Linked DNA regions of Homo sapiens: all the other regions are linked to region 1. The links are contacts of gene promoters, found by promoter capture Hi-C in blood cells and fetal thymus (Javierre and others, 2016). All regions are on one chromosome and are shown on one strand. The core of a region is centred on a gene start or on the middle of the fragment in contact, and the rest is flanking DNA. Distances in the headings are between cores, read along the strand shown.

Region 1 (4,037 bases), core at 855-3,354:
GGGTTCATACTATTCTCCTGCCTCAGCCTCCTGACTAGCTGTGACTACAGGCACCCCCCACCATGCCCGGCTAATTTTTTTTGTTTTCTTTTTTGTATTTTTAGTAGAGATGGGGTTTCACCGTGTTAGCCAGGATGGTCTCGATCTCCTGACCTCGTGATCTGCCTGCCTCGGCCTCCCAAAGTGCTCTGATTACAGGCATGAGCCACCGTGCCCGGCCAAGACACTTGATTGAATTGCTTAAGTGCTTCCCATGTGCCAGAGCCATGAAAGGTAAATAAAGAAAATAAAGAAAAAGAAGAGTCAATTATTTTGATGACTTAGAGATCTGACCATGGAGGCCATGTGAAAGGTGGTAACCAGCAATTTAAACCATGTGTTGCTGGATCCCAGAGTAATATAATTTATTGATTTCTCGGGGAAATGAGAATGTTCTGAGAGTGGTATTTAACATCCACTACACTCGCATGAAATTCTCCCAATCACAGACTGATCTGTTCATTGAATTATGATATAGAGTTCAAAAACACTCGATAGAGGAAATTATATTCAAGTTGTGTCTTAAATATGGAGTAAGATTTTAATAGTACAGGAAAGGATGGACTTACAGAGGGAAGAACAATAGCAGCAAATTCAGACATTTGTAAAACTGGAGGACACAGGATGGGAAGTAGGACTGTGTCTACCCAAGCAAAGAGGGGTGGGTTTGGAACCAAATATCTGAAGGGCTTGGATGCTTTGGAGTCAATTGGCAATTTTTTAGAATTTATCAAAACAATTCGATAATCTGTTTATAAGAGAGAGTTCTAGAACTTCTAGGATGAAATTTTTGAAACACAACAAGGAGGGAGAGATAAGGAAATGAGTTATCACTGTAACTGAAACCTTTCATCATGGCACAGAAAAAGCAATCTCTATCTTCAGAACACACTTGTATCCCAGAAAATATTTCATTATATATATAGTAATGTAGTAAGTGATTAGGATGCCGTTTAAATCAGAAAGGAAAGAATTAATATTTATGTAAATTTTGTTAAGAAAAGTAGACAATCCTTTGGTGAAACAGGAAACTCCATCTTCCTTTCATATCATACACTTAAATGAATCACGCGGTGATTCAAAAGAAAAATGAAAGAGCCTGAAATGAATATAGATATGCACTTATTGGGAATCAGGCTAAGGAATGTCTTTTTGGTCATACTGGAGAAAAAAAAGAAGCCACAAATGAAAAGACTGATATACCTTGTCAGATGAAGTTTTTTGTTTTTTTTTTTTTCTAAACTACTTTATAAATGTTGAAACTGGGGGAGCAATTCATCACTTAGAAGCGATATCATTCATACACAGAGAGTGTATGACAATAAAAGATGACAATGAAATGCAATCGGTAATAAGCATATTTACTCTGTCAAATTGGGAAAATAAGACAGGATATTTAGTCCATCAAATTGGGAAAATATTAAAGAAAGTGATTGTGTGTAGTTTTGATATCATAAAATTAGAAGTGTAAGTTCAATGCAGGACAAAGGGGTAACTTCCCTAAAAACTAAAGAATGCTAGGCAAGTATTGCAAATAATTTGTGTTTTTTTATTATCTCTATGTATCTCTACGTCTTTTGTGACATACAGAACTATCCACGATATATGACCTGTGGCAAGAAATGATTACAAAATATTATGATGCCATTTGGGAAATGGGATTCTTAAGAATTCATATTTACTCACATAAACCAGGGATTAAGTAAGAATTTTTTTTAAACCATTCTTTACATGTAATATGAACTACTTTTGAAATAAATATTTAGTTGGCTTTTACACCAGAAAATCAATAATGCTTTATATCCCTGGTGATGGGATGATGGGCTTGTTTGAGAATATAGTCAGGTTTGCTACAACGCGAATATGTTAGTACTGAGTAAAGACATTCTTTTCAACTCAGAAACACCTTGCATGCCGCCTCCCGCCGCCTCGCAGTGGGCGTGACTCGAGGTGGACGCGCATTTACGACACCATCGCCCCTAGGATCGGACTGCGCTGCGGAGGGTTCTGGGAAAGGTAGTCCCACACCTCGAGTCGACTACTTCCGTTTCCGGTGGGCGCGTCACCTTGATTGCTTCTTAGGCAGTGGTGAGGCGTCTTAGAGACGTGCATCTCCATGCGGTTGTACTGTCAGGCCATGGGAATTAGGATCGGCTCTATAGGACCAGTGTGAAGGGACAACGTGCGGCGGAGGGTCGAAGCCCACGGATTTCCATGAGCTCGGCCTGGTGAGGCAGGGGTGTAAGGAGGCGCACGTATCGAACATTCTGAGCGCCTGTGCGGGGTGGGCCCGGGTCGGCAGCCCTCGCAGTCCAGGCTTGGAAAAGCAGTTTGAGGCCAGCTCTGGCTTTGAGATGAGATCTGCAGTGCGGGAGACTCCACTGTGTCAGTTGCGGATCGATGACATGAATTTTCTCAGGGTAGCCGCCCACCCACTTGTGGAGTAATTTCAGAGTTTTCTGCGAAGTCATTTCTGTAAACAGGAAGTTGATTCCCTGTGTTCTAATTTTATCCTTTGAAATGTATTAAGCGCTGTGCAAGTCCTAGGAGTTGGTTTGCTGTATCGTTGCTGGCTCTGCTTTTTGTAGCCGCCTAAGCACACACAGGCAGAATTTCACTTGTAAGTGTCCCACAGCATGTGACAGTCAGCTCTGGATTAAAATCTTGAGATTTTGTCTTGATTCTCCTTGTCTCCTGAAAGGGGCAGTGAAAGTAGGCTTGTAGACGGTTTCTTTGGGCATCAGGAATGGCGTGTCCCTTGTACTCTGAGTCCTGTAGGAAGAGAGGTTCTTTTCCTCGGCTCCTGAAGCAAGTAGCGAGGGTAGATTACAGGAAGGGGTAGATTACATCCAGCTGGCACTGAGAGATTTCCCCCTGTGGCGTGGTGGGAATTGGGATTAAATCATGTTATCCTGCTGTTCATTTTTCTTTCACAGGCTTCCTTCTTGGAATTGTTCGTTTCTCGGAGATAATTGTATAAAAGAAGGAGAAATAACCCCACATCTCTTGACACTAGAGCTCCAGGTGAGTGAACTTTGGTTCTCTTTTGTGGCAATGCCAGGTCTCTTGGTGACCTCATTCTTCATCCCATTGATATCACAAATGTTCATTCAGACCCCTTAGCCACACCTGCCTTCCCCTAGAAATGGGGGAGGTTTGAGGAATTTCCCAGTGTCTTTATTTAGTGTATTCTCTTCTTGGCTCCTAGTAGTGTGTCACTGGGTCAGTAAAGGCTTACACTGTTTCAGCGCCATGCTGAAGAAACGCAGGGTAGAAATAATTAGAGTAACTGTGATGGTGTATATTAACTGAGTGCTTACTATATGCCAGGTATTATTTATCCATGGTGTCTAGGACAGTGCCAGGCTTGCCAATAAATATTTGAATAAATGAATGTATTTCTATTGAATTTTCTGAGCAAGTTTGTATGTTAGCTATTATCCCCATGTCACAGATGAGTTGCTAAGGTTTAAAAAGTTAAAAAAACTTAACAGGTAAGACCTGGCCAGGAGACCTTCTAAACAGAAACCAGGTCTTTGCGCTTATGCTTCCTTCTGGACTTGTCTCATCCCAGCTTTTTTCACAGCTGATTTATTTGTCAGGCAGCTCTTAGAGACTGTCCCTGACCACCTGATTTAATGTTGCTCTTTCCACAGCTGCCACATATGTTCACCTGATAGCACCTACATTCTTGTTGGAAAACAGGAATCTATCATGTTTGCTTTATTTTCTTCATAGCCCTTTTTGCAACCAAAGGTCACCTAATTTGTAGAGAGATTAACCCACCCGAAAGTAAGCACCATGAGAACAATTACCTTTTCCATCTTAATTTACTGCTGTATGTCTAGTGTTTATTCTCCTAAGATGTTGTTAGACACTGAATGTACATTTACTAAATGCATGAGTTCCTGTATTCCTAGGTTAATGCTGGGTTGGGTCAATGGTAATAGTATATTGATGATTTTCTGTGTACCACGTACTGGGCTTTGAAGTTTATT
Region 2 (4,037 bases), core at 432-2,931, 510 kb after region 1:
ATGTTAAGTGAAAGAAGTCAGACATAAAAGGACAAATATTGTATGATTTCACTTATGCGAGGTACTTAGCATAGTCAAATACACAGAAACAGAAGGTAGAACAGCAATTACTCGGGGCTAGGGAGAGAGAGGATGTGAAGTTATTGTTTAATGGGTACGGAGCTTCAGTATGTGATGAAGAAAAAGTTGGAGATGGACAGTAGTGATAGTTGCACAACATTGTGAACATACTTAGCACTACTGTACTGTTCACTTAAACAGTTAAAACAGTAAATTTTATGCTATGCATATTTTACCACAATAAAAAGAAAAACTGTATGGCTGATGTGGTTACATTATTATCAGACAATTTAGACTTTAGGTCAATGAAAACTTCCAGGGATAAAGTGAAACATTACACAATTATAGAGGATCCATTCACTAACAAGACCTAACAATCCTAATTGTGTATGCACCTAAAAACAGAGCTCCAAGATACATAAAGCAAAAACTGATCAAACCTAAAAAACAAAATAGATAAATACACAATCAGAAATGAAAAATAAAAACCATTATTTATAATATTAGTAACATTGAAAATATGAAATATTTCTACATAATTTTTATAGCTATTCTGCCCTCAAGGAGATGGGATATAATTCCCTATTTCCTCCATGTGGGCTACTCATAGTGACTTCCTTCCAAAGAGTACAATATGAGAAAAGGGGAAAAAGGGTGAGGAAACCTAACAAACACTACCTCAGCTACGTGATCAAGGTCAACGTCAAGAGTGATAGGTTATATTGATCATGTACCCTTGAATGACATGATAAAAATGGCACTTTACTTCCCCAAAATCCATAACCTTAATTTGATTATGAGGAAAAAATCCATTTGAGGGATATTCTACAGGACACCCGACCAGCACTCCTCAAAACTGTCAAGGTCATCAAAAACAAGGAAAGTCTGAGAAACGATCACAACCAAGAGGAGCCTAGGGAGACATGATAAACTAAATATAACATGACATTCTGGATGGCATACTGGCACATAAGAAGGACATTAGTTTAAAACTAAATAAATCTCAACAAACCGTGGACTTTAGTTAATAATAATGTATCAATATTGGTTCATTAATTCTAGCAAATGTAACATACTAACGTAAGAAGTTAATAACGGGAAATTGGGTATAGGATATATGGGAACTTCCTCTACTACCTGCTCAATTTTTCTGTAAATCTAAAGCTTTTAAGTATGAGGTTTATTTTAAAAACGACTATTTAAAGGTAAATCTGATCAAAGACATTCATGACATCTACATTGAAAGCTATAAAATATTGCCAAGAGAAATTAAAAGAGGCCTAAATGAATGGAGCAATATAGTATGACTAGGGATTGGAAGATACGATATTGTTAAGTCATCAATTCTTACCAAATTGATCTATAAATTGAATGCAGTCCCGATTAAAATTTCAGCAGGCTGGCCAGGTGTGGTGCCTCATGCCTGTAATCCCAGCACTATAGGAGTTCAAGAAGTATGGATCACTGGAGGCCAGGAGTTCAAGACTAGCCTGGCCAACATGGCAAAACCCCATCTCTACAAAAATTAGCCGGGTGTGCTGGTGCACACCTGTAGCCCCAGCTACTTGGGAGACTGAGGCAGAGAATCGCTTGAATTCAGGAGGTGGGGGTTACAGTGAGCTGAGATCATGCCACTGCACTCCAGCCTGGGTGACAGAGTGAGACTCTGTCTCAGGAAAAAAAAAATCACATGCTTATTTGAGGAAATTGACAAGCTGATTGTTAAATTCATATGAAAATCCAAAGCATCTAGAATAGCCAAAATAACCTTGAAAAAAAAAAGTTGGAGAATGGATGTTGCCTGGCTTCTAGACTTTTTATAAAGCTGCAGCAATCAAAACAGCATAATATTGGCATCAAATTAGACATATAAATCAAAAGAACACTATAGGGAGTCCAGAAGTCAGAAATAAACCCACACACATATATGGTCAAATGATTTTGTACCAAAGGTCTCAAGTAATTTAAAGAAGGGAAGAGTCTTTTTAAAAAATAAATTGGAAAAAAAATGAATTGGAAACACCTATACAAATAGTAATTACTTGGATGACAGGCCTAAATATAAAAGCTAAAGCTTATAAAACTTCTAGAAGAAAACATAGGAGAAAAATCTTATCTTTGGAGTCAACAAAGATTTATTAGATATAATTTTTTTAAACTAACTATAAAAAAATTGATAAATTGGACTTCATAAAAATAAAAACCTGCTCTTCAAAAGATTTTGTTAGAGATAAAAATACATGCCCAGAGTGGAGGAAACTATTCTCACTACACATATCTGACAAAAGGTTTTTTATCCAAAATATAAAAGAACTCTTAATTCATGAATAATAAGACAACTAACGCAGTTAAAAAAATGGGCTCAAGATTTAAGCAGACACTTAACAAAATACATAAATGGCCAAAAAGCACATGAAAATGTGATGAATATTTGGTCACCTGTAAAATGCAAACAAAAACCACCGTAAGCACTACACACCCACAGAATGACTTAAAAAGTCTGACAACACCAAGTGTTGGTGAAGATTGGAGATGCTGGAATCTTCATACATTTTGATGGAAATATAAAAATTACAACGCTTTTGGAAAACAATTTGACAATTTCTGATAAAGTTAAGCCTATAAAAAAATTACAGAGTGGCACAAGGGAAGTTTTGAGTGTGATGGATATGTCCATTACCTTGATTGTGGCATGGTTTCTTAAGTGTGTACATATGTTAAGTCTCATCAAATTATATACTTTATGGGCAGTGTACTGCACATCATTTATGCTTTCATGATGCTATAAAATATAATGTAAGCCAGCACTTTCACTATTAGGAATCTAAACTACAGAAGTAAAAACATATGTTTACACAAATCGTTGTTGTGAAATGTCCACATCAGCTTTGCTCATAGTAGCAAAAAATTGAAAGCATTCCAAATGTTTATCAAGAAATAAATGGATTAATAAGTTGTGATATATCCGTATCATTGAAGAGTACTCAACAGTAAGAACAAATAGTACAACCCGAATGAATTTTAAAAACATGCTGTGTCGGCTGGGTGCAGTGGCTCATGCCTGTAATCCCAGCACTTTGGGAGGCTGAGGCAGGCAGATCACGAGGTCAGGAGACTGAGACCATCCTACCTAACACGGTGAAACCCCGTCGCTATTAAAAATACAAAAAATTAGCCGGACGTGGTAGTGGGCGCCTGTAGTCCCAGCTACTCAGGCAGCTGAGGCAGGAGAATTGCGTGAACCCGGGAGGCGGAGCTTGCAGTGAGCCGAGATGGCGCCACTGCACTCCAGCCTGGGTGACAGAGCGAGACTCCAACTAAAAAAAAAAAAATGCTGTGTCAAAAAAGCTTCACACATCAGAGTACATGTTATATGATTTCATTTGTATGAGATTCTTCGGCAGGAAAACAACTAATTTTTCATAACAGAAAGCAGATTAGTGCTTGGGGCTGGGGACATGATAGAACAATCATAGCAGGGCTAACGAGAGCTTTTTGGGGTGTGAGGTAAATATATGCATCTTGAGTGTGGTGGCTTTACACAAGTGTACACGTTCATCGAATGTACTGAACTTTATACTTTAAAAGGGGTATGTTTTAATAGAAATTATACTTAATAAAGTTGATTTTAAAACATTAGCAGTACCACTACCTCTAGTAGTAATAATGTTAAAAGAAATTGAGTTTGTAAAATGTCCAATGACATCCAAGGATTAAGTAAGGCTATTTTCTCAAATCTGAATTTGAGTAACATATTTAAATCTCATATAGACACACTTATAGGAGAAACATGTTCAGGGTAGTCGTCTTTAGATTTGCATTGTTTGGGAAAGGAGCAGCCTTTGCTCACAAGAGCACTAATAAAAGGCCACAAGTTTAGGATTATGAGAGAGACCCGAATTCTGCTAAGATGTAGGGATAAATAATTACCAATCATTATTCTGGAGGTCACAAATTTGCAACTTCCCCAATTATCC
Region 3 (4,037 bases), core at 853-3,352, 490 kb after region 1:
AGCCAGTTCCAGAGCCACTTTCACATTTTCAGGCATCTTTATAGCAATGCATTGCACCTCAGTACCAATTTTCTGTATTAGTTCATTTCTGTGTCACTGTAACAAAATACCTGAGGCTGGGTAATTTATAAAGAAAAGAGGTTTCACTGGCTTACATTTATTCAGACTGTAAAGGAAATGTGGTGCTGGCATGTGCTCAGCTTCTGGTGAGGCCTCAGGGAGCTTTCACTCATGGGAGAAGGTGAAGTAGGAGCAGGCATGTCACAAAGTGAGAGCAGGAACAAGAGAGAGAAATTGGAGGACCCAAATTCTTTTAAACAACCAGATCTCACATGAACTAACTGAGCAGGAACTCACTAATCACCAAGGGGATAGCACTAAGCCATTTATGACGGACCCACCCCCAGGATCCAACACCTCCCACTAGGCCCCACCTCCAACACTGGAGATATGGAGGGACCAAACATCCAAACTATATCAAATGTAATTAAAAGGACTGGGTTGGACTCTGATGCTTGACCAAGTTCGAATTTTAGTGAATCTAAGCTTTAGCCACTTGCCTCAAAGCTGTCCCTAAGGGAAAAAATATACCAGGACAACAGTAAGTACCTCTAAGACCTGTGGTTACCAAAAGGCAATCAGTGTATGGGAAGGGTAAAACCAAGAAACTGAAACTACAGTGTACAGTGTGAAGGAATTGTTTATTTTGTAGCTTCTTAAGGAATCTTTACTCAACTGGATTGTGAGAGAAACTAAGTAGCAGCATCTTTGGTTTTAAATGTTGCATTGAAGAGCATATTTGGGTTTATGTAGGACCCACAGTTCACTATGAAACAATTACAGATGGTGATACATGATGCAACAATTACAGACGGTAAACACCTGATGCAGACACACAGGAGATGTGAAAAAAAAAAAACAACCAAAAACCCAATAGTCTTATCTATTTTGGGCTTCTAAAAGTTGTTAGGCCCGAAGGAAACTGAGTCACTGAGCTTGACCTCTTAACTTCCTTCTTTGTTTTCTTGTTCCTGGCTCAGACCAGATAGCATCTAAGATAAAAGATTCTTTGTCTGAGATAAAAGACCCCTTTGACTATTACATCTCTAATGCAGAATGTTAAATACGTTCTTCCCAATAAAAGGAAACACTGCTATCGAATTGCTATAACTATGCATTAATCTTGTATAGAAAATGCTGACATCCTGTTAAGCTTCCTAGACCCTGCCTACATAATGACTCTCAAACCTTTCCACTTCAGAGCACTTATCCAATCTTTTGAAGTCCGTGTCCTCCCAGGTGGACATCTTAAAATTTTGTGTTTGAATAAACTCAATATTTAACCATATTGCCTGAATCTCACTATCAATGTTAACAGATTGTTCCCAAGGGAACAGCCAGCCTGATCAACTGGATAAAAGACATGGTAATGTCTGCTTGCCCTGAAAAAGCGGACTGCTCAACTCACCCTATAAATGCTCGGTGGGATACCCCAGATGATGCAGCTGATATACCGCATGCAAGCCACGTGGGACTGAATTTATGATGACTGGGATATTCATCTGCTGAATATGCTTCTTACCCAGGTCATGGTAAATGCTGTGGCTAAGGGGGCCCCTTTCGCATGGATACCCCACGTGACTTTTGTAAAAAGAAAACTCAAAATGGAGATGGTTATGTCAGAAGTTTCTAAAAAGAGGCATGTGGAGTTGGACCTCAGTTATGTACACATCCAGATGGATTTTAACCTGTTTAACTGGGCCAAATTGTAAAACCAGCTGCATTTGATTGGAATTGTTTATACATGGCCTGATTGCGAAACTCTTGGGGAAACAGCTATGCTGAACTAGATTGATCATCAACCAAAGACATCCTAAGTTGCTAACCAACTGACATCAATCATGGACTGTACTAATACCTTCCAGATATGTAAACTTACAGTAAACATTTATAAGCCCCTGCCCAACCTTGCCTGGATAGAACAGGAAATGATTTAGCTGACTGCTAGATCTGTACTTCTTGATTGCAATTCACAAGACCCCACTTAAAACATCTTTTCTTTTGTTTGTGGCTCAGTATTGATTTTATTTATTAGTTGACATCTTAACTCTTGCAAAACTGAACAACAGTCCTAGAAGCCTTATCAGATTTGCTGTCTCAGCTTCCCTTTAAAGATATTAAAGATGTTAATAAAAACATTAGGTTAATTAGCAAGAGGAAAAAGGCAGAGGGCAGAGTCAAACGACTCATCCCAGAAAGCTAGAAATTTTTTAAAGGTCATTTAAAAAACAATGATAAAGGTGAAACTAAGAAGAAAGAGAGAGAGTCATGGGACTCATTCCAACAGGGTGAAAATCTTTAGATCATTATGTTAAATTAAGTTTAGCCTAAAGCTGCTTTCTTACATACTTTAAGTTAGGTATAAAGGTTTCTCCAGGCGGGTTATGGTGGCTCATGCCTGTAATACCAGCACTTTGAGAGGCCAAGGTGGGTAGATCACCTGAGGTCAGGAGTTCAAGACCAGCCTGGCCAACATGGTAAAACCCCGTCTCTACTAAAAATTAGCCAGGTGTGGTGGTGTGTGCCTGTAATCCCAGCTACTTGGAAGGCTGAGGCAGGAGAATCACTTGAACCCAGGAGGCAGAGGTTGCAGTGAGCCAAGATTGCTCCACTACGCTCCAGCCTGGGCGACAGAGCAGGACTCCATCTCAAAAAAAATAAAAAATAAAAATAAAAATAAGAAAAGGTTTATCCATATATAACGAACTGTAACCTAACTGGAAGTATAAACAGACTGTAACCTACTCTTGTGCCAGTCACTGAGTTTTGACCAATCAAAGGGAGCCAACTGTTCAAACAAGGATCAAATAAGGCAAAAGCTGAGCTGTAACCAAACTGGCTGTTTCTGTTCCTCACTTCCACTTTTTGAATGTCACGTTCCTTTTTCTGTTTACAAATCTTCTTCAACCACATGGTAGCAGTGAAGCTTCTCTGAATCTATTCTAGCTCAGGGGCTGTCTGATTTGCAAATTGTTTTTTGCTCAATTAAATTGTTTGACTTATTTAAGATTTTTTACTTTTAACAGTTTTATTAAGAAATGGAAAAAATAAAATGGAAATTGATGAGGCTAAAACAAAGGTCTGAACACAATAATATTGAAAGTTTGGTGGATCCTCTGCTGATCCCCCAATATTAAAGGGTTTCAAATAAGTTTGTTGTATTTACTCCAGTTTGGAGAAATTTTAAAAGGCCGAAGGTAAAGATTATGATGAGAAACCCCACTTGGAATTGCTTGGGGGCAGTAGTCAAGTAGATTAGTCAAGATAAAGATTGACAAGAGCCAGGGTCCTTTGGCTCAATCCCCTCCTGCTGACTCTCAGTGTTTCGCATAAGAGAGGATAAAATGGCTGGGGGGAGTGTTGGGGTGGGCAAGTGGTGGAAAACTTCCTGGGACTAGAACATAAAAATGTAAGGGTTGATAGGATTATGAAAGTTGGACTATTTAAACAGACTTTATATTAAGAAGTTGTATCTTCTTTACCTAAATGTTTTATGGGAATGGACATTGTATCTGACTAGGGAACGTTTCTCCTGACTAGCATTACAAAACAGAAGGCATATAAATCTACCCTTCAAGCAATATTAGTTGGACATGCTAAATGGGAACCAGTAAGATTGCCTGAGTCCGCACAGTGTAGAATAGAATCTGAAGTGCTGGTATGGACAAATTCTGTTTTGATAGCTCCATGTGGAATGTAGGCTGGGGCTTATGACAGAAGCCTGTGAGTGCCTTCTAGTGACAATTACTGAGACTTTGGACTAGAAAATTTTGACTTGAAGAGTATTTACTACCCCACTATGGGGCATTAACTGAGGCTAGCCCTATGACTGAAAGACATTAAAAATCTTGACACCTGAAATACCTATGCTCTCTTAGGTAATGTTAGGAAAACATTCTAATGGGGATGGCAGTGCCCAGAAGAGTTCCATAATAAAATGGAAATAGTTTATACAGAGTCATGCTACCTGGAGACTG
Region 4 (4,037 bases), core at 1,132-3,631, 470 kb after region 1:
ACTAAAAGGTGCAATTTCTTTTTTCAAAGAAGCTTCAGCTCTACTTTTAAATAATTTCAAGTGATTCATCAGGCCCACTGACATTATCTCACATAATATCCCTACTCAAAGCCAACTGATTATGGGCTAAATATCTACAAAATGCCTTCCATATATATATATATATATATATGTATTACTGTTTGATTAAATAACTAGGGACTGTAGTCTAGGCATGTTGTAATTAAAATTGATACCACACAGATCCTCATCATCAGAAAACTGTTTAAGGAAAAATTAATATTCAGTACACCAGGATACAGCAGGCATTAGAAATGAGGTTGGAGGTCAACTTATTTATACAGCCTTTAACATTAGTGTCATATTAGGACAATCCTGTTAGGAGCAAGTATGCTTAGTGTGTTCCTAGTTTTGTAAAATTCTATACAATTGTTACCTATATGCATAGATATGCTGAACCATCCTTACCAAAATATTCATACTTCCTATCTTCCACTTTCTTTTTTAGACTTTTCTGTACCAAAGTAATTGTTTCCAATGTCTAGACATTATTCTTGCAAGTAAAATGAGTGTATTTTTACTATAAAAATTAAAAACAACAACAAATCTATCCAGGAAGTTATTGTCATAGTGTATCAAAAAAAAAAAAAAAAAAAAAAAACACACACACACAAATGTTGTGGCATTTAGCTCAAACATTTAAATGGATATCCTACTGATATGGTCAGAGAATAATAACTTGGGAAGCTTCCCTCATTTTTCAAACACAGAGATTGAGACTCTGCAATAATTCCCAATTATAATAATGTACCCAATTTCAAAGTTAACATAGTGAACTTGCCAGGGTCATATACATAAAAGAGACCCAGTCCATCGTGAGAAGTGGCAAGAAATACTGGCCACACAAAAGCTCAGGTACTACATATGAAGCTAGGTATTCAATATTCAGTTTTATTGGGAGTCAAATACTCATGCAGTCTGTGAGACATAAATATGAACAATAAAAACAAATCAGCTGTTAATATCATCCTGTGACCAATTTGAGGACCCAGACACACACGAGGGTAGATGGAAGGCCTACCTATGGTATTTTTTATTATAAAAATATTTAAAAATGTAATCTGATGAATTTTCTTTTACAAATAATTATCTTAGAGATGAACTATTATCTGGTGATAGTTTAAGAAAACCCCACAAGACTGCAGGCCCTACTTTTCTGATACCACATGCACAAAAAGTTAACATAGCAGGCATAAGTCAGACTGCTAACTTTAAAAAGAGCTGTTTGCAACACTGGCCTTTGGCTGGAGTCAAGGAACATGGGGTTTGAGAGAGTTACCACCTTTCCATAATGGGTAGGAGTGGTCACTGCGCCTAAACTCTACAATGCAGCTTATTTGGAACACTTGCTCTTCTTCTTAGAGTTGGGAATCTTGATATGTACTAGACACATACCTACATAATCAATCTCAATAAGAACCTGTGCTGCTGGTTGCTAATGAGCTTCCATTGTAGACATTTCACAAGTAGTATCACAATTCAATGCTAGAGGAGTTGAGTCTTATGTAACACCATGCAGAGAGGACTCTGGTAAGCTTGCTTCTGGTTTCCTCTAGACAACTGCCCATGAGCCATTTCCCTTTACAGATTCTGTTTTGTATCTTGTCACTGTAATATTGTTATAAGTACAACTATAGTCTCAGTTATTTTAGTAAATCACAGAACCCAGAGGTGGTCTTAGGGACCTCCAATCTACTATCCAAACTGGCACAGCATGAATATAGCATCATGAAAATACATTATTTAGAAAATTAATTATGAAAAGCTTACTATCTCAACTAGACACTTTGAAGAATGCCTTTTAACCTAATACAGTTAAGTTACACCATGGTGTATAACTATGAATTAGCACCCAAATCAGCTCTTTGTCCGAGCTGGTTCCACACACTAAGAGACTGCTGCTGTCATGTTAAGTTCCCTGATCATGCGCATTTGTTCTTCAAAGAATCTGTTTTTTTAACCTCCACAACTATATATACCCACATTATTTCTGTCACTAGGATTTGCTTGCTTCCTGACTTATGCCTAAAGCAGAATCACACACATTAGTTATGAAGGCAGTTGACCACACTCATCAATCTGTATATCCAGGTGACCAGATACATTTTTTTATTTTGAAATATGACTTCCACATCCCTATTCCTTAATTTTGAACTGTCATATGACAATGTAGAGCAATCTTATTCAGAGTCCTTATAGGTAAGTGATTAATATTAATAATTTTTCAAATTTTTCATCACATAACTGCTTTGGTAAAATTGGTGTTCAATGAGAAATTTAAAATGCATAAAATTATAAAATGAAAAATTCCAGCAAATACTCATTGCCAGGGAAAATGTCAGAATATTCATCCACAAATGATGTACATACACACTAAAAATAACCAAATAAACAAACCCAGAAACACAAAGACACTTAGTTTGTTATGAAGGCTACAATAGGATTTCCCTAAGGCATACATTATGCTCTTCTCTTTTTATTGTACATCTATGTCATCATTTTACTGGCTTTGTGTTTTTATATTAATAAATGCACTTCATACAAATTCCTGTGGTTGAACACTTGTTCTTTCCATTTTAAAATTAAGTGACATCATCCATGTAATCTACTAATTTTCAGAGTTTTAATGTTGTAATTTTCTATCCTATGATTTCCAGGTTGAACAGTTGTACCTTATACATACTGCCATATACCACTTTCCAAAAAACGTATTCTTATGGCCAACAATAAAGAAGAGTATGTAAAGGTTACTCTTGCTCCAATAATGAATATGTATGATGAAATCACCAAACTCCAACAAATGTTCTTGGTAGTTCATAGAGATGGGAAGAAATACTGAGGTTGCCAAAAATTTTCCTTCAAATTTGGCAAAGCTTCTACCTGAGAAGTCTGATAAAAGAAATAACTACAGCAATTAGAAGGCAATCATATTAAAGCCTGCACAGAAACGCAGAATCACAAATCATGATCAATTCAAAACTTATTAGGAATTTTTTTTTAGATGAAGTCTCGCTCTGTTGCCCAGGCTGGAGTACAGTGGCACAATCTCAGCTCACTGCAACCTCCGCCTCCCAGGCTCAAGCGATTCTCATGCCTCAGCCTCTCAGGTAGCTGGGATTACAGGCACACACCACCACACCAGCTAATTTTTGTATTTTTAGTAGAGACGGGGTTTTGCCATGTTGACCAGGCTGATCTCGAACCCATGGCCTCAAGTGATCCACCTGCCTCAGCCTCCCAAAGTGCTGGGATTACAGGAGTGAGCCACCACACCTGGCCTTTACCAGAAAAATTTTTGTCAATGTAACTACATCTGCCACATTAGAAATGTTACTGTGGGCTGGGTGTGGTGGCTCATGCCTATAATTCAAGCACTTTGGGAGGCTGAGGTAGGAGGATTGCCTGAGCCTAGAAGTTCAAGGCCAGCCAAGCAACATGGTGAGACTGTCTCTATTCCTTAAAAATAATTTTTTAAAAGAAAAAAGTGTTTACTGTGAATCCTGCCTTAAAATTGTTGAAAAAACTTAATTGTACAATATGCAGTGGTCTGTTATTACAAAATCTTTTCACCTCATATTGTGAGAAAAGTGACAAATGATTGTTAAATTTATACTATATACAATCAAGGGAACACTAGACAGAGTCCCAAATAATAAGAATCCGACTTGAGAACAGAGGATGAGGAGAAGCCAGGAGCCAAGTGGAATAAGATAATAATCAAAATAAAGGTCTACATTGCAGTGCTGAGTGTACCCTGCATTTCAACTCATGTTTCCATAAATTATTTCTTGCAAGATTTCTCCTTTTTAATACTATGATTTAGTTTTTTCTTCAACTTTTATTTTAAGTTCAGGGGTACATGTGCAGGATGTGCAGGTTTGTTACATAGGTAAATGTGAGCCATGGTGGTTTGCTGCACAGATCAATCTATCACCTAGGTATTAAGCACAGCATCCATTAGCTATTCTGCCTGATGC
Region 5 (4,037 bases), core at 753-3,252, 450 kb after region 1:
TTTTTAGTAGAGATGGGGTTTCACCATGTTGGCCAGGATGGTCTCGATCTCCTGACCTCGTGATCCACCCGCCTCGGCCTCCCAAAGTGCTGGGATTACAGGCGTGAGCCACCGCGCCCAGCAAAAATATTTTAGATATCAGGAAATAGTCATAAGGATAATGGGAATAATAAAATTGAGCATTATATAATATGGCAGTTCACTAGTTTATTCTTTTTTTTTTTTTTTTTTTTGAGTCTCACTCTGTTGCCCAGGCTGGAGTGCAGTGGCGTGATCTTGGCTCACTGCAACCTCCACCTCCCGGGTTTAAGCAATTCTCCTGCCTCAGCCTCTAGAGTAGCTGGGACTACAGGCACGTGCCATCACGCCCGGCTAATATTTGTATTTTTGGTAGAGATGGGGTTTCACCATGTTGGCCAGGCTGGTCTCAAACTACTGACCTCAAGTGATCCACCTGCCTTGGCCTCCCAAAGTGCTGGGATTATAGGCATGAGCCACCACAACCAGCCTCACTAGTTTAGTCTCTATTAGCAATATTTAAAATTTTCTATAGTTAAAAGACATATGGGAAAACACATTAAAATATAACAATTTTTAAAAAAATGTTTATCAACAAATATAGAAGTAGACACAAAGAAAGACAAAAGAAATCAATTAGAAGCTTAACAGTTACTACCTTTACATCTTGGATACATGGGTAATTAAAAAACTTTTTCTACTCTCATTTCTCCTATTTCAGACTTTTCCACAATGATACAGTTCCACAACAGTACGAAATACTTGGAAAACATGAAACAAAATAGTTGAGAAATTTTTAAAAATTCCTAGACGTCCAAGCCCACGAGCCTTGCTCTCAACGTCCTTTCAATCAGGTCCTAACTTGCTTTCCCTACGAGTCCAGCTAGTTCCTCTGCCTCAATGAGAATGTATCCAAGAGGTGATCAACTCAGGCTCTGACCTGGACTGCCTAGGTGCCAACCCCAGCTCTACCTCTCACTAGTTGGCTGCTATGCACCCTGTGTCTCACTCTCATTTTTAAAACAAAGAAAAGCAATACTTCACAGAGCCACAGTGTGGCCTAAATTTATTTGTATAAAGCACTTAGAATGAAGTTACCAATTACGGCTTAATGATTATCAACACCCATTCCCGAGGACACACTCTCGGTTGGGTGAACATCTCTATAAAGGAAAAAAGCCAAGGACCAATCACATAGAGATTTGCCCTCAGTAGCCAAGAAGTCCCCTCCCTGCAGCTCTTTTAGAAAGGTCAGGCTGGGGAAGGCGAAAGTTGTGAAATACCCTGACTGCATCGCGGTCCCCCATAAAAGTTAAATGCTCCCCGCCCTTCGTGGAAGCGGACGCAACTCGCTTTCCTAAAAAGAGGTCAGAAGGCCTCCCGGGATCATCCAGCGTCCTGCAGGGATTAGGGAGAAGGACCAGGGCCCCTGCAGCTGAAGCTATGACTCCACCCGGGGACCTGACCTCTTCGGGAAGTTAACAAGAGACCACCAGTCACCAAGTGACAGGGACTGCTTTAAGGTTCTCATTTGCGTTATCTCTTTCAGTTCCCAAAAACGATTCTACTAGGATGGTTCTAATGTCCCCATTACCAAAAACAGCAATGGAAAGTATAAGGACATTGAGTAACACTCCACGTCACACTGCGAGAAAGCGGTCGCACAGGTAGGGTGGAGAGAGGCAGGCTGAGCGAGGTCAAAGTCCTGGAAACGCTCACAGCAGGGCACAGAGGACCCCGCCAATTCCAACCCCCGGGATGCGAGCACAGCACCCCCATCCCAGAAAGCTTCCGTGGACGGGAAAAAAACCCCATTCCCCGCCCCCACCAAACCTCCGCTCTCCGCCAAGGCTTCTTTTCCCTTGCTTGGATCATCGATCATCGGGTCGTTGCGACCCCAAGCGAAGGTGACAAGTTCAGAAGGACCCGCCAGACGCAGAAATGGCTCAAACTACGCGGTTATGTAGCAACCGCAGGCTCACACACCGGAAGTGCTCGCGTCTCCACAGAGCGTCTGGACTCCACTTCCCAGAATTCCCCGGTTCAACTGCTTGAGCCAAAGGGTCCGCCATTCCATGAAGTTGATGGACTACAGTTCCCAGAATTCACTCGTCCACCCGCCTGAGCCAACTTGCCCGCGACTCAGAGTGTGTCTGGACTCCGCTTCCTCCAATGCCAAAGGAAAATGTCTATAATCTCACTCTTCAGCGGGAAGCGTTGGACTCCGCGGTGGTCCTTGACTACACACACCGCAGTGCCCACCGGGAACGTATTCCATATCTCTGAGCGCCTGGTGGGGAATGTGGACTGTGACCCTGTGAGTCGTCCGTCTCTCTTCCTGAGTCTTTGAGCGAAAATAGTGTATAGACAGGAATTCCTGAAGTCTAAACGCCTCCCACGATGACAGGAGTGTTATTGGGAAGAGAACAAACGAGGAGATAAAATCTTCAAGGATTAGGATAATCTGACGATGGGAGGTTAAAACTAACGGTTTAAAGGATGAGCCAGGTGGAATGGTTTGGCAGGGGCAATGAGGAGCAGGAAGACACCAGCCCCTACTCCAGAAGCTGTGGGACCACTGGTTTGGCAGGAAAAGCCACCCCCATTTAAGATCACAGCTACTAGTGGAGAAGCGGTGTCGTCATGGAATAGCTATCTTCCCATAAACTTTTCATGGTATTCATATTTCTCCTTAGATGTAGAAACATCAAATTTCAGCGAATGTAGTGAATTGCTCAGTACCTCAGAGCAATAATGACTGATGAAGAGCTAGGCATTGGTATCAATCTTACATTGAGATTGTAAATGCAGTAAAACGGGAGGATTCTATAGGTGAAGGAGCATGTCTTATAAAGAGTTTTCTTCCTGGCCAAGCGCAGTGGCTCAAACCTGTAATGCCAACCCTTTGGGAGGCCAGGGCAGGACGTTCCCTTGAGCTCAGGAATTGGAGACCAGACAGGGAAATACAGGGAGACTTCGTCTCTATAAAAATTTTTTTTTAACTGGCCAGGCATGGTGGCCTGATCTTGGGACTACAAGTTCCAAGTACTCAGGAGGCTGAGGTGGGAGGATTGCTGAAGCCCAGGAGTTTGATTGAGGCTGCAGTGAGCTATGATGCCACCACTGCCCTCCAGCCTAGGCAACAGATACCTCAATAATTAAAGATTTTTTTTTTTAAGTTTCTTCTTATTTCTTGGTGAAACATAATTTCTTTATTATAGTTAGCAATTTAAAAACTGGCATTGGTTAAAAAATAATAACAGTATAAAGCTAAATTAGGAAACAATTCATCTAAAAACCTGCTCTTTTGAAGGTAACTTTTTTTCTCCCTATAAACATACATTGGCCTATAAACCAATATTCTTCTTTTTAAAAAAAATGGAGTCTACTGTTTACCTATTTTTCTAAACTAAAAACTTTTCAAAATTTTGTTTAGACACAAAAATAAGGTGACTGTGCCAAACTTTTGATGCCAAACATCCGCTCTCTGAAAATTGAGTGATCACTATTCATATGCCAGTTATAGCTGTATCCTTGATCTACTCTGCCTTCCCGAAAGATAAGATGTATTGACACACTCAATCGTAGCATGCAGGGAACTGAGCCTAAAAGGTTAGGGGCACTTGGCATCAAAGGTCCCTTCTGCTTCCCAGGTCCGTGCACTCTGGGTCTGTGTTGGGAGGAGCAGCCTCTATGATCTCCTAGATGCCTTTGGGGTCATTCTTCCAGTGTTAATGGACAGCAGGTCCTGGCTTCTGTTGACATGACCAATCCAAACTAATCTCCTAAATCAGTTGCTTATCTCTACCGTTGTTTTATCCAGAACAGGTTTTCTAATTTTTTTTTCCAAAGTAGATAGGCTGTGAATTTTTAAAATTCTTAGTTCTGTTTCCCTTTTAATTAATAATTCTGACTTTCTGTGGTGTCCCTCCCACATGTGGGAATTCTGGGAGATACAATTCAAGCTGAGATTTGGGTGGGGACACATCCAAACCATGCCATTGATGACACTGACAAAA
Region 6 (4,037 bases), core at 843-3,342, 420 kb after region 1:
AGAGAAGGGAGAGTATCCTTCGGGAGGTTTCTATTTTGAGAGCAGTTTCCCAATTCCTTTCAGGTCATAAAGTTCACCAGATGAAAATACAACACTATATCTCTATAAATATAAAGAAAGATTTCAGTAAAATCTATATTCCTTCACATTTTTGACAATTAAATTTGTATAAAGATGCAGAAATAGACACATTTTTTGAAGAAAAACATTTGGAAATATAAGCAACATTCAGCTCATAGATATAAAGAATTTCTCACAGACATAAACACGGTCCTTAAGGAAAGCTCAAGGGTAAGCCCCAGGGAAGGCATGTTTCTCAATGTGGTCATGAAAACCATGCTTGAAAGTTTCCATGGGATGTGGGTCAACTGCACACACAGAAAACCAACCATGTCAAGAGAACCTAAGAAAGTCAAAATTGGATAAGCAGCCCTGCACAGACAAAAAAAAAAAAAAAAAAAAAAACAAAACAAAACAAACCAACAACTGTCCTGCAACATATAGTCAGCCTCTATATCTGTGGGTTCAGCATACATGGATTCAACCAACAGTGCATCAGAAGTATTTGGAAAAAAAAAATTCCACAGAGTTCCACAAAGCAAAACTTGAATTTCTCACATTGAGTCCTATACATTGAATCCATGTGAATAAAGCGATGGGTAGGCATTGCGTTTGGTGTTATACCTAATATAGACATGACTTAAAGTATATGAAAGGGTGTGTGTAGGATATACACAAATACTTTACATGTAGAAGGGACTTGAGCATCCTTGGCTTTTGGTATCCACAAGGGGGTCCTGGAATCAAACCCCACGGCTACCAAGGCATGACTATATAACATTCACTCTTGTATGTCTGTTACTTATTAGCTATCTCCATGATTCTTACAGACAGTCAAGTCCTCTCATCCATTAATTCATTCATAAGAATACCAAATATTTACAGATAACTGCCATGTACCAGGAGTATTCTAGGTGCTGAAGATGCAGTCATAAAGAAACAGATAAATGCCTTCAAGAGATTACATTGCAAAGGGGAGGGGCGACTTATCAGTAGACAAAAATACATGAGACACAACACAGGCAGGCCAAGAAGAGTAAAGATAGGATAGTATTTTCAATAAGGTGCTTGGAGACGACCTCTCCCATGATATTAAAACTGAGCAGAGAGCTGCATAAACTAAAAGAGGGGTCAGTAAGTTTTGTGGGGACAGTGTATTCCAATCAGAGAGAAGAGCAAGTGAGGGCTCGGAGGCAGAAGCTTTTGTAGTAGAGAAAATAATCATTCCTGAAAGATGTCTACATCCAGTCCTCAGAACCTATGAACACGTTATGTTCCACAGCAAGGGAGATTAAAGCTACAGATGCCATTGAGGTCACTAGCCAGCTAAGCAGAAAGTGGGAGGGTCATCCTGAATCATCCAGGAGTGATGAATACTATCACAAGGGACCTGAAAGGTGAAAGAGGAAGGCATAAGAAGAGTGGCAGAGGAAGCATGACTATGGAAGAATGGTCAGGGATGCAATGTAGCTGCTTTTGAAGATGGAGGAAGGGAAACAAGAGCCACGGAGTGTGGACAGTGACTAGAGACTGGTAAACCAAAATGAAGTCTTCTCCCCATGAACATCCAGAAAGGAACAAAGCCCTAAGACCACTTGATTTTTGCCCAGTGAGATGTGTCAGACTTCAGGCCTACAGAAGAGAAAGATAAGTGTTTCTTGTTCAGTCTGCTGAGTTTTATGTCACCGGCCACAATAGGCAATACAATGTCCTTGGCAGGATAGAGAAACAGCAGGGAGGACAAGGTGCCTGGAAAAGATGGAGCAAGGGGGAGAGGACAGGAGATGCAGTCAGACAGTGTGGGATGAAGGGCAGATCACAGGGTCTACAAAAGCCACTTAAAGAGGTTGTAACACTAATAAAAACAAGAAGCCAGAAAGGCTTTGAGCTGAGGAATGGCAATGTGACTTCCGTTTCCTACGGATCACTTTGGCTACCGTAAGAACAGATGGCAGGGTGGGAAGGGTGGGAGCAGGGGCATCAGCAGGGAGAAGGCTGTAATAATCCAGGAAACAGGTTTGGCCATTTACCCCAAAATGCTGGAAATGGGCATGGACAGAAGTAACAGGAATCACATGCAGGGACACACAATTGCTTGGTTCTTACCCAAATTCCCTTCTCTTTGGCTTGTTGTCCCCATCACCCAAAACTTTTCTTCCCTTAGGAAGTGGAAAGTATCTCCATGGAATGGTTGATGCCCTGTGAACAGGCAAAGTCACATGCTTAATCCCAACATGTTCAAGGTAATATCATGTTGGTGCAAACGTAATTGCAGTGTACCATTACTTCCAATGACAAAAACCACAATTACTTTTGCACCAACCTAATAGCCAGGCAAAATTTACTGGAAATGTAGGTTCTCACTGCACACTCAAACTTGAAAACCCTAGGATTAAAAAACCACTCCTGGGGCCTGACATTCCATTACAGGGGGTGCCCGTCCTCACCCACTGAGAGCAGGTTCCTGAAGTTCTCAAGCATCACATCTCGGTACAGCTTCCTCTGGGCAGGGTCCAGCAGCCCCAGCTCCTCCTCAGTGAAGATCACAGCCACATCCTTGAAGGTCACTGCCTCCTACAACATCAAGCAGATGTCACCTCAATCTTACGGCCAAAGACTATTGGGAGACAGCAGCATTGCACTGGCACAAGGGACAAGTGTAAAGTTGTTTTGGATCTTGAGAGACATAGGTCAGCTTATAGATTTCCTACTTATTCTGTTTGTGTCCTGACAATGACTGATTAGGCAATAGGGGTTTGGAATGGAGACTGCACACACCAGTCAACAGGGTGTGTCCTGAATAAATAGTGGGTAAAGGACATTTACTGAGATGCTATCTCTAACTCCACTTCAGGAAAGCTTGCTGCAGAGTTAGAGTGATATAGTCCAAATGCTCTGTTTGAGTCGCGGGCCCTTTGACGAAAATGAGACTGAGGCAGGAGAATCACTTGAACCCGAGAGGCGGAGGTTACAGTGAGCCAAGATTGCACCACTGCACTCCAGCCTAAGCAACAAGAGCGAAACTCTGTAAAAAAAAAAATATATATATATATAGAGAGAGAGAGAGAAAGAAAATAGTAGATAAGGTTAAAAAAATTAAAAAGCAAAAAGCAAACAAACAAAAACTCCTATAGAAGTCCAAGCCCCTGAGCCTTGCCTCAAGGTGCCTTCAATCAAGTCCTAACTTACGTTCTCCACCTGTTCCCAGCTAGTACCTCTGCCTCAATGAGAATTGCATTCAAGAGATGATCAACTCAGGCTCTAACCTGGACTGCCTAGGTTTCAACTCCTGCTCCACCTGTGTCTCACGCCCATCTTTAAAATGAAAAAAGCAGCACCTCTCCACAGTGCCACTGTGAAGATCATGTATTTTGGGGTATAAAGTACTTGGAATAAAGTTACCAATTAAGGCTTAATCATTATCGACACCCATGCCCGAGGGACAAATCCTACACACTCTCGGTTGAGGTAAGCATCTCTGTCAAAGAAAAAAAGCCAAGGATCACTCACGTAGAGCTTTGCCATCAGTAGCCAAGAAGTCCCTTCCTGCAGCTCTTTTAGAAAGGTCGGGCTGGGGAAAAAGAAAGCTGTGAAACACCCTGACCGTTTTGCCGTCCCCCATAAAAGTTAAATGCTCCCCTCACTTTCCTAAAAAGAGGTCAGAAGGCGTCAGGGATCATCCAGCGTCCTGCAGGGATCAGGCAGAAGGGCCGGCGCCCCTGCAGCTGGAGCTCTGACCCCACCAGAGGACCTGACAGGCTTCGTGGGAAATTAACAAGAGACCACCAGACACCGAGTGACAGGGACTGCTTTTAAGGCTCTCATTTGTGTTACCTCTTTCAGGTCCCAAAATGAATCCATTAGGATGGTCCGAAAAGTCCCGTTACAAAACAAACAAACAAACGAACCAGCAATGGAAGATAAACGGACATTAAGTGACACTCCACACCACACTGAAAGGGGCTGCACACGTAGGG
Region 7 (4,037 bases), core at 857-3,356, 400 kb after region 1:
CCCACCAACAATGTATAATCTAAACCTAAATGTGAAATATATCTGTAGGGGAAAGAAAAAGAGATCAGGCTGTTACTGTGTCTACGTAGAAAAAGGAAGACATGAGAAACTCCATTTTGATCTGTACTAAGAAAAATTCTTCTGCCTTGAGATGCTGTTAATCTGTAACCCTAGCCCCAACCCTGTGCTCGCAGAAACATGTGTTGTATTGACTCAAGGTTTAATGGATTTAGGGCTGTGCAGGATGTGCTTTGGTAAAAATGTGTTTGCAGGCAGTATGCTTGGTAAAAGTCATTGCCATTCTCCAGTCTCGATTAACCAGGGACACCATACACTGCGGAAGGCCACAGGGACCTCTGCCCAAGAAAGCCTGGGCATTGTCCAAGGTTTCCACCCACTGAGACAGCCTGAGAGATGGCCTCGTGGGAAGGGAAAGACCTGACCGTCCCCCAGCCCGACACCCATAAGGGGTCTGTGCTGAGGAGGATTAGTGAAAGAGGAAGGCCTCTTTGCAGTTGAGGTAAGAGGAAGGCATCTGTCTCCTGCTCATCCCTGGGAATGGAATGTCTCGGTATAAAACCCAATCGTACATTCTATTTACTGAGATAGGAGAAAACCGCCTTATGGCTGGAGGTGAGACATACTGGCGGCAATACTGGTCTTTACTGCACTGAGATGTTTGTGTAAAGTCACACATAAATCTGGCCTATGTGCACATCCAGGCACAACTCCTTTCCTTAAACTTATTTATGACAGAGTCCTTTGCTCACATGTTTTCCGGCTGACCCTCTCCCCACCATTACCCTATAGTCCTTCCACATCCCCCTCACCAAGATAGTAGAGATAGTGATCAATAAATACTGAGGGAACTCAGAGACCAGTGCCGGTACAGGTCCTCATTTGCTGAGCGCCGGTCCCCTGGGCCCACTTTTCTTCCTCTATACTTTGTGTCTGTGTCTTATTTCTTTTCTCAGTTTCTCATTTCCACCTTGTGAGAAACACCCACAGGTGTGGAGAGGCAGGCCCCCTTCAATATCAAACTCCAAATGAACAACTATGGAAATGTGACAGCTAAAGACAACGCATAAACTGGACTTTGAATAGGTGAAGGGTGGGGCAGAGGACAGTCATAAGGACTTTAAATGAAAAATTTAACAAATTCGTATATGGAACTGCAGATTAGATAACATGATGCTAGGTAATATGCTATCCAACACTATCTAGTAAGTACACTACAAATACTAGTATTCTTTTAACACATCTATCTGACATGTAATCGGTAACAGTATTATTTAACATAATATCCAATATTATCTACCATGTTATGTGAAACCCTATAACCAGCCCTTCCTAAATGCCTCTTACCAAGACACCCCACAATTACCGTGGTATGTGGGCTTCCTTGCTGCAGAAAGCTACCAATCAGCTGTCTCTGGTTACAGGTATGTTCCTGGTGGTATTTGGTTGATGGTCATCAACAAAGCAAACAGGAAAAATGTAAACACTTGGCAAATTTGGGTAAAGGGTATATGAGAATTTCTTATACTGTTTTTGCAATTTTTCTATAGCTTTGAAATGATATCAAACGTTTTAAAATATCAGGCAACAAGAGACCACTCACCAAGTGACAGGGACAACTTTAAGGCTTTCATTTGTATTATCTCTTTCAATTCGCAAAACAATTCTATTAGGATGACCCTATAAGCACCATTTTAAAGAACAGCAATGGGAAGTACAGAGACATTAACATTCCACATCACACTGCGAGAAAGAGTGTACACACTGCATACGTAGGGAGGCGGACTGAGCGAGGTCAAAGTCCTGGAAACCCTCAGAGCAGGGCACACAAGGCCACCCCAATCCCACCCCCCGGGAGGCGAGCAAAGCCCCCCGACGCCAGAAGGCTCCGCTGACGGGAACAATAAACACCCTCCCCGCCCTCGCACCTCTAAACCTCTGCTCTTCGCCAAGGCTTCTTTTCCCCTGAGACGATCATCGATCATCGGGTGGTTGCGAGCCTCAAGCAAAGGGGGTTCGTTCAAAATGTCCTGCAAGACGCAGAAATGGCTCAAACTACCCCGGTCATTAAAGCAGGAACCTCAGACTAGGAGACCGGAAGTGTCCTCTCTGCGCCAGAGTGTCTGGACTCCACTCCCCAGAATTCCCCGGACCCGCCCCCCTGAGCCAAAGGGCCCGGGACTCCGCAGAGTGTCTGGACTATCGTTCCCAGAATTCAACGGTTCACCTGCCAGAGCCAAAATACCCAGTGTTCCACGAGCCAGTGGACTACACTTCCCGTAAAATGGACTACTCTTCCCAGAATTCTCCGGAAACGCCTACCTGAGCTGAAGTATCAGGAATCCCGCAAGGTGTCTGGACTGCAGAGCCTCAGATGCAAAAGGAAAATGTCCATCACCTCACCCTTTAGGCTCAAGTGTTGCGACTACATGGTGCTCCTCGATTACACTTCCCGCAACACCCACGGGGAACGAATTTCATAGCCCCAGGTTCCTGGTGGGGAATGCAGACTGTTACCCTGACAGTTGTCCTTCCCAGAGTCCTCGAGCGAAAATATTGAATAGAAAGAATTTATGAAGTCTAAATGTCTCCCATGATTGACAGGAGTGTTCTTGGACAGGGAACAAGCGAGGAGATACAATATTCAAGGAGCTAGATAGAGTGACTGTTGAGCCGTCAGATGGCTGAAAGGAGGCTCAGGGTTTAAAGCAAGGATATCCAACTCCAGGGCCACAGACCTGTACCGGTCCACTGACTGTTAGGAACCGGGCGGCACAGCAGGAAGTGAGCGGCAGGTGAGGGAGCATTATGGCCTGAGCTCCACCTCCTGTGAGATCAGCCCAGCATTACATTCTCATAGGAGCGCGGATCCTATTGTGAACTGTGCGTGCGAAGGATCTAGGTCAGGCGCTCCTTATGAGAATCTAATGGCTGAGGTGGAACAGTTTCATCCCGAAACCATTCCCCAGTCCGTGGAAAAATTGTCTTCCACAAAACCGGTCCATGGTGCTAAAACGGTTGGGGACCACTGGTTTAAAGAATGAGCCAGGTAGAATGGGTTGGGAGGGGCAATGAGAAGCCAGGAAAGCATCAGCCCCTGTAACTGAAAAGTAGATCAGTGGCTTCCCGTTTGCAACGTCCAGTTAACAAGAGGGAGATCTGGTATAAAGAAAGTGATTTATTCTAGAGCTAGCGTAGGGGAAGTAGCACAGGTGTTGTCTTTAAGTGCACGGCTTGGCTTTTAGAGCAGAAAGCAGGCACTTTTAAAAGGTAGGGGAGGAAGAGGGAAGGGGTCTGTGTGCTGGCTTGGTGCCTTATCTATTAGGCAGTTGAGCTGGCTTTTTCATGGGCAGAAATAAGTTGTAACCAGAAGGGAGAGAGTAGCAGGCACGCTTTCAACTGTTGTCTCTTCAGGCAACCTCCTGGTGAGTGAGAGTTCAGAGGCCAGCATGCTTTAGTTTGTAAATTGACTGTTAATTCTGGAGGAGAGTTCTGGCTTGGAGCACACAGTTAGATGAACTTTCCCTGTAGGAAGTGTCTGGTGAAGGGGAGGTAAAAGTCTATATTTGCATTTTTAAAGGGCTACATAGGAAGTGGGGAACTAAGGGAATGAGAAAAGAGAGAGAAATAAATAAGCTGTCTCTTAGAAAAATGGTGGTTCTCAGTTACAGCCCTAGTCCAGATGCTGTGGTACCACTGGTTTGACAGGAAAAACAAAATTCCAGCCACCAATGGAGAAGCTGTGTCCTCATGGAAAAGCTACATTTAACATTCTCATGGTAGTAATATTTCTACTTTAGATGTAGAAACGCTAAATTTCAGAGAAGTTAGTGAATTGCTAAGTATCTTAAAGCAAGTATAACTGTTGAAGAGCTTGGCATTGGTATCAATCTGACACCCAATGTCTGATTCAATGCCATAAAACTGGAGAAGATTCTATAGGTGACGGAGCATGATTTATTATTAAGAGTTTCTTCCTTTCCATTTCTTGGTTAAAATATCTTCATTATAGGAAACAA

Evidence for each region. The method cuts DNA at HindIII sites, captures the fragments that hold promoters and counts their contacts. A CHiCAGO score of 5 or more calls a contact.
Region 2: a fragment that was not itself captured here is called in contact with the fragment with the promoter of ZNF229 in region 1 in 1 of 17 cell types (erythroblasts); the score reaches 5.1 in erythroblasts.
Region 3: a fragment that was not itself captured here is called in contact with the fragment with the promoter of ZNF229 in region 1 in 4 of 17 cell types (M0 macrophages, erythroblasts, M2 macrophages and 1 more); the score reaches 8.4 in M0 macrophages.
Region 4: a fragment that was not itself captured here is called in contact with the fragment with the promoter of ZNF229 in region 1 in 5 of 17 cell types (erythroblasts, M2 macrophages, M1 macrophages and 2 more); the score reaches 8.9 in erythroblasts.
Region 5: a contact is called between the fragment with the promoter of ZNF230 here and the fragment with the promoter of ZNF229 in region 1, in 4 of 17 cell types (M2 macrophages, fetal thymus, total B cells and 1 more). The highest score is 5.8, in M2 macrophages.
Region 6: a fragment that was not itself captured here is called in contact with the fragment with the promoter of ZNF229 in region 1 in 1 of 17 cell types (M0 macrophages); the score reaches 5.3 in M0 macrophages.
Region 7: the fragment with the promoter of ZNF223 here is called in contact with the fragment with the promoter of ZNF229 in region 1 in 2 of 17 cell types (erythroblasts and neutrophils); the score reaches 5.6 in erythroblasts.

What each region holds. Positions count from the first base shown.
Region 1 is chr19:44,446,539-44,450,575 of GRCh38, reverse strand. It overlaps ZNF229 (zinc finger protein 229), which reads left to right and starts at 2,104. Exons shown (of 6, transcript NM_014518.4): 1 at 2,104-2,267; 2 at 2,976-3,063. The HindIII fragment of the contact is 11,359 bases long and covers 1-4,037 here.
Region 2 is chr19:43,938,295-43,942,331 of GRCh38, reverse strand. No RefSeq gene overlaps it. Among named protein-coding and RNA genes, the nearest start is that of ZNF45, 5.0 kb to the right of the region's middle. The HindIII fragment of the contact is 910 bases long and covers 1,227-2,136 here.
Region 3 is chr19:43,955,872-43,959,908 of GRCh38, reverse strand. All of the region lies in intron 1 of ZNF221 (zinc finger protein 221), which reads right to left. Among named protein-coding and RNA genes, the nearest start is that of ZNF221, 6.7 kb to the right of the region's middle. The HindIII fragment of the contact is 1,773 bases long and covers 1,216-2,988 here.
Region 4 is chr19:43,975,558-43,979,594 of GRCh38, reverse strand. It overlaps a transcript of ZNF221 not described here. Among named protein-coding and RNA genes, the nearest start is that of ZNF155, 6.6 kb to the left of the region's middle. The HindIII fragment of the contact is 1,108 bases long and covers 1,828-2,935 here.
Region 5 is chr19:44,000,922-44,004,958 of GRCh38, reverse strand. It overlaps ZNF230 (zinc finger protein 230), which reads right to left and starts at 2,002. Exons shown (of 5, transcript NM_006300.4): 1 at 1,852-2,002. It overlaps ZNF230-DT (ZNF230 divergent transcript), which reads left to right and starts at 2,089. Exons shown (of 3, transcript NR_110727.1): 1 at 2,089-2,694. RefSeq lists an enhancer at 1,730-2,239. The HindIII fragment of the contact is 6,099 bases long and covers 1,809-4,037 here.
Region 6 is chr19:44,025,620-44,029,656 of GRCh38, reverse strand. It overlaps ZNF222 (zinc finger protein 222), which reads right to left. Exons shown (of 4, transcript NM_001129996.2): 2 at 2,508-2,634; 3 at 2,167-2,259. Among named protein-coding and RNA genes, the nearest start is that of ZNF222, 2.3 kb to the right of the region's middle. RefSeq lists an enhancer at 3,983-4,032. The HindIII fragment of the contact is 1,659 bases long and covers 1,263-2,921 here.
Region 7 is chr19:44,050,105-44,054,141 of GRCh38, reverse strand. It overlaps ZNF223 (zinc finger protein 223), which reads right to left and starts at 2,106. Exons shown (of 5, transcript NM_013361.6): 1 at 1,947-2,106. RefSeq lists enhancers at 1,880-2,119, 1,939-2,440 and a silencer at 2,160-2,219. The HindIII fragment of the contact is 18,414 bases long and covers 1-4,037 here.